2 separate regions of the Homo sapiens genome follow, and region 1 is linked to region 2. Evidence: promoter capture Hi-C in 16 types of primary human blood cells and fetal thymus (Javierre and others, 2016). All regions are on one chromosome and are shown on one strand. Each heading gives the region's core, a stretch centred on a gene start or on the middle of the fragment in contact. The rest is flanking DNA. Distances are from core to core; before and after follow the strand shown. Region 1 holds the start of SMARCE1 (SWI/SNF related BAF chromatin remodeling complex subunit E1). Region 2 holds the start of EIF1 (eukaryotic translation initiation factor 1).

The links. Contacts are between HindIII fragments. The CHiCAGO score rates a contact against its expected background, and 5 or more counts as called.
Region 1: a contact is called between a fragment that was not itself captured here and the fragment with the promoter of EIF1 in region 2, in 1 of 17 cell types (non-activated CD4 T cells). The highest score is 5.1, in non-activated CD4 T cells.

The regions. Positions count from the first base shown.
Region 1 is chr17:40,647,098-40,649,797 of GRCh38, reverse strand. It overlaps SMARCE1 (SWI/SNF related BAF chromatin remodeling complex subunit E1), which reads left to right and starts at 1,980. Exons shown (of 11, transcript NM_003079.5): 1 at 1,980-2,025. RefSeq lists a silencer at 1,447-1,741. The HindIII fragment of the contact is 6,478 bases long and covers 1-2,700 here.
Region 2 is chr17:41,687,538-41,690,237 of GRCh38, reverse strand. It overlaps EIF1 (eukaryotic translation initiation factor 1), which reads right to left and starts at 1,353. Exons shown (of 4, transcript NM_005801.4): 1 at 1,169-1,353; 2 at 297-460; 3 at 49-150. The coding sequence starts at 1,199. RefSeq lists enhancers at 1-743, 669-758, 744-1,652 and a silencer at 1,139-1,528. The HindIII fragment of the contact is 2,180 bases long and covers 1-1,573 here.

The sequences.
Region 1 (2,700 bases), core at 168-2,667, 1.0 Mb after region 2:
TCCCAAAGGCAGGGAAGAAACCAGGCTGGAGTTGCTGGACGAAGCCAGAAAAAGAATGTACTGAAATCCCTTCTGAGGCCTTTGTGTATCGTACTTTAATCCTTTACATGTCTCTGATGGATATATACATATATATATATATAATTTTTTTTTTTTTGAGACAGAGTCTCGCTCTCTCGCCCAGGCTGGAGTGCAGTGGCGCCATCTCCGTTCACTGCAAGCTCCGCCTCCCGGGTTCACGCCATTCTCCTGCCTCAGCCTCCCCAATAGCTGGGACCACAGGCGCCCGCCGCCACGCCCGGCTAATTTTGTTTTTGTATTTTTAGTAGGGACGGGGTTTCACCGTGTTAGCCAGGATGGTCTCGATCTCCTGACCTAGTAATCTGCCCGCCTCGGCCTCCCAAAAGAGCTGGGATTACAGGCGTGAATATTTTTTAACAAGCAATTTCATGTACATTTTCTCAAGCACCACTCAAGCTGCCTGTCCACGGGGCAGACGACTTCTCCTTTAGTCTTTCTCTTGAATATGCTCTTCAATTTCATTAATCTCTATTCATGAGTATAACAATATTGGAAAAATTGGACAGAGTATCACTTGTTCCTCGCTTTGCAGACTAGAGATGCTTCTAGTCCCTGTTGGCACACTCAGGATGGGGGCTACGGGAAGCCCAAGAATTCAGCCTCTCTCTAAATGTCAACTGTTTTCCAGTAACCACAGGTCAGGGATCCCATACGTTCATTCTCCCTCCACAGTGACCCACAATATCCATCGGGTGTTTATGTATCCAAAGAAGAGGCTACTCATTCCATCTGGTAAACCAACATACTCATGATTTAGTGGAAAGAGCCCTGGAGTGGCACAGAGGGCTGCCTCAATACACACTTACTGAGCGTCTAACAATGAATGGGTCAAGCCCTTCGTAGGCACTGGCAATGGGAAGATGACCAATACAGACGGCTGAACCTTGCTTTCAAGGCCTTCATAAAGCACTGGAGATGACAAACACGGTCCGATACAAAGGGTCGGGTTCAGGACTCCAACCATTATTATCAAAGAGCCACGGGAATACAAAGGAAGGATTACTAGGGGGGAAGTTCCAGGAGGGCATCACAAAGAGACCTCTGAGCTGGATCCAGAAGGACAGATGAGTTTAAGCTGAAAGTGGGGACGGTCGTTCCCGCTGGTGGGAACCGAAGGAGCCGAGGCAGCGCTGAGGCGGAGACCAGGTGGCACCCGCGGCGCTGCAAGGACACACAAGCTGTTGCGAGGGGGTCAACTCTCCGGGCCTTGGCTTAGAAACCTGGGACGATTACACCCTAAAAGCGCTTGGAAAAACTGCAGAACTCGTGCTGATTTTCGCCAAAGCTACTCCCCCGCCGTGAGGGCAGGAAGCCCTGCGAGGCGCCTGCGAGGACGCAAACGCCGCGAAGCAAGTCCTCCACGCCTCCATCCCAGGTTTAGTGAAGTGTAGACTCTGACCCACAGCCTAAAGGAAAGCAAGACCGGAGTCGGGGAGGGCCCCTCCAGGAGCGGGCTCAGCGGGAGTCTGGCCGAACTGCTTGCTGCCACAGTGGTTCCGCGGCCTCGCGCTGAGCGCCATCCGCCGTCTCCCACCGCGGCCCCCACCGCCCCTCCGCAAGGCTCGGCACCTCCCGCCACTTCCTCGGTCGCTGCGGCGGCTCCGGCTCCTCACAGCCGCTAAACCCAGGCCTATTCTGTGTTAGGTCGGGCCTCCTCGGCCCTCTTCGCCGTGACGAATCAGCGCCCGGCTGGGAAAGTATCAAAATTCGGGGAGTTTTGAGGATCCAATGGGTCCTGAAAAAAATCCCTGAGTGTGCTAAGCATCACCGCATCTTCACTAGAAGGTTAGTTTTTCTAAAGAGGGTCGGGTGGGGCCCGGAAAAAAAAAAAAATTAAGAAGAGTGTGGAAAGTGCGAGTGCGGAAGCTCCGGACGCGAGGGGCGGGGCGAGCGCGGGACAAAGGGAAGCGAAGCCGGAGCTGCGGGCGCTTTTTCTGCCCGCGGGTGAGTGTTTCCAAGTGGGACGGACCGGGTCGGTGGGTGCAAGTCGTGGTGTCCCCGCTTGGCTAGACCCCGAGTTCCCGGGGGTTGCTGGGGTTCAGCCTTGGCCGTGGGGCCAGAGCCAGGAGCCGGTTGAGGCCTCCTTGAGGCCTAGCAGAGCGAGGGTTGGGAGGGAGTCCCATCTGGGGCCCCCTCCTTGGAGGCAAGGCCAGTCCCCCGAAATTGGTCAAAGCACCTGTGAATACCCCGTTTTAGGGGAGTTGCTAGTAAAGTACATTCTCCAAGACAAAGAGAGCGACCTCAGGAAGCCGTGGGCAAGGCAGGTCCGTGGTTCACCCCCCACCCGGGCAGAAGGTTCCCCCATTGGTTCAGGCAGCGACTTGAGGACGAGCAGAGCTCTGAAATAGTTTGGCCTGGGTTTGAAACCCAACTTTGGCACTTCCTGGCTGCATATGGCTTCAGACAAGTTGTTTAAACTTTCCGAGACTCCCTTGTTTCATCTGTAAAATGGGGATAGCTGTACATATAAAGTACTTGTGAGTGTTAAGCGAAATAGTGTCATAAGCGTACCCCGTATAAAGTATTTCTTGAACAAATATTTATCGGGTATTTATTTTTATGCCAGGCACCAAAGATGGATCCAACGGTGGACAAATGTACAAGCCCACTCTTAAATTT
Region 2 (2,700 bases), core at 104-2,603:
TGAGATTTGCCAGCAGAGAGGCACAAATCAAGTAGTGACTGAACTCACCTCTACGAGGAACTGGCATATGTTCTTGCGTTGGTCACCCTGTAGCTGAATTACTTCTCCATATTCCGGATGCTCAATTACAGTACCATTGCAGGCAAACTTCTGCAAGCACAAAGGAAAACGAATTAGGCCTAGCAAGAGCATGAACGCATTTATCACCCCTTCCGCTAACAATACATACAACACAGCTGGCACCCCCTTGTGGACAAATCCATTATGACTTTCCCAAAATCTCACTGAAGACCTACTTTCTTAAACGCCTTCACTAGTTTCTTTTTATCGTAATCATCAGCGATCCCTTGGACAGTAGTAAGGGTCTTCCTGCCGTTTCTCTGTTGAATTCTTATATGGATATAATCCTCAGTGCCAGCAGGAAGCAGGTCATCACCCTTACTTGCATCAGCAAAGGGGTCTGAAAAAAAAGGTTAAGCTCGTTCAGAGCTGTCAAAGATAGGATGCCACTGCCATCCCCTCGGTCCCCAGGTGTTTTGCGCGTGCAGAAAACAACACTGAAATCGTCAGGGCTTGGGCCAGGCCGAATGTGTCCTTTGCTGGCTCTCCCCGAGCAGGTCAGTCCGGGACGGCCAGCTTCCCCAGGCTCGGGGAACGCCCGGGCCTCCCGCCCTCCCTGGGAAGCCGATCACATGTCGGGGGAGTCCGGGCTGCCAGGCGGTGCCCCACCCAGCTGATGCAACCCGCCGGAACCCGAGCTCCCGAGGCGGGGCTAAGCCTCCCACCCCCATTGGTGCACCCGCTTGCCACTTAGGGCTGGCACCGCCTTTCCCTCCGGATCCGTGACAACGGGTGGTGACGTAACGGACGTGACGCAATGGTGACGGGAGGGGCGGGTGTGGCCCGAGGAGGCCCAGGAGCCATTAGTAAATGCGCCACTGAGACGCCGGGCCCGCCCAAGGGCTGACCTACCGCCTGCTCCTTCCGGTCGCGCTCAGGGTCCGACCCCGGGGCCCAGGCCTTGATCCCGCTGCCCTGCGACCCTGGTCAAGTTTCCCCTGCCCGAGCTTACGAAGGCCCGGAGCGCTTGGCAACTTCCCGGAACACGTCTCCGGGCCCGGAAGGCCCCGCTGCCCCACCCGGGCCCGCGACCTTTCCCATAGCTTACCGAAAGAGTGGAGGTTCTGGATAGCGGACATACGATACGATTCCTTTTCCTCGGTGGAAACGGCCTGCGGAAGGCGGCGGCGGCGGTGGCGGGAGAAGGCGGGCAGGGGGGAACGGAACGTCGGGAAGCGAGGGGGCTCAAGGGGGAGGCTGCTGAATCCTCGGCGGCGGCTCAGTGACTGGGGCAGAGGGGCGGTGCCTGTGTTTAGTTATATAGCCGCGCCTCTGACGCCAGCGCGCTGCCCTCACGTCCTGACCCCACCCACAGCGTCGTGCCCCAAGCGCCCAGGCGGCGCCGCTTCCAATTGGTTTGGAGGCGGGGACATGGGATGGCGCTTGCGCAGGAAGTCTGCGGCAGGAGGGCGTCCTCTTGACTCTAGGAGAGCTGGGAGGGGGAGGGAAAGCTTGATCTGTCTCGGAGCCTGCGCAGTGCGAGTGGACGGTGTCTGGGTGCCGAGAATACCGGCCCAGGTTTCGAGCGCGCCTACGCACTGTGTCCTTTGGTACGTTCCACCTTCTTGACCCTGTTGCATCCCTGTCTTCTCGAAAAGGGGAGTTTCATATGGTAAATGAACACTCCTTAGAGAGGATTTAGATGATGAGCCTCCCAAACACGAGAAATCCCCGTTGTGTCAAACCCACCTACCTACCCACCCTACTACCCACGGAGTCACAGCGGGATTTAGGGCGGCACTTTGATTAATCAACATACAATAATATAATCAAAACGGTAACCGCATAATTTAGATTGCCATTTAGATTTATTCTAAAGTGGGTTAATCCGATCTAAAATTTTCATTTAGATTAGATTAATCCATCTAAGGAAAAAGTGTGCCCAGCTCATTGGCATGAGTTCAAGGTATAGTAACTGGTTCTGGGCCCCCCCGAGAATAATTCTGGCACCAGAGGGCGTCCTTCATGTGGCACAGCTTGTGTGGAGTAGAGCCTTCCTAGAGTTTAGATGAAATATTTCCTTCAAAACAGTCAACCTTTCTTGCTTTCAGTTTATTTATTTCAACACTCAGTTGTAGGGGTAAGTAGAGTGGTGAAAAGAGACCAGGAATTTTAGACTCAAAGGCCTCCGGGGATAGGCAGGTAAGTAGGATCAAGGAGTGCAAACAGCCAAGTGTGATGTAATGGGGTGGACTGGGGGCTGGAGTAAGAACTACGGGCTGCAGTGGCCGCTCACCTCCAGCCCATTGTGCTAGATCTTTTTCAAGAGTGCCAGGAAATCCAGGTGTTTACATAAAATCTCTTGATTTTTAAATATTGCCAATAAATTGATTTTTTTTTTGAGACAGAGTCTCACTTTGTCGCCGAGGCTGGAGTGCAGTGGCACTGTGTCGGCTCACTGTAACCTCCGTCTCCTGGGTTCAAGCAATTCTTCTGCCTCAGCCTCCCGAGTAGTTGGGGTTACAGGCATCCACCACCACGCCCGGCTAGTTTTTTAAAAATATTTTTAGTAGAGATGGGTTTTCACCATGTTGGCCAGGCTGGTCTTGAACTCCTGACCTCAGGTGATCTGCCTGCCTC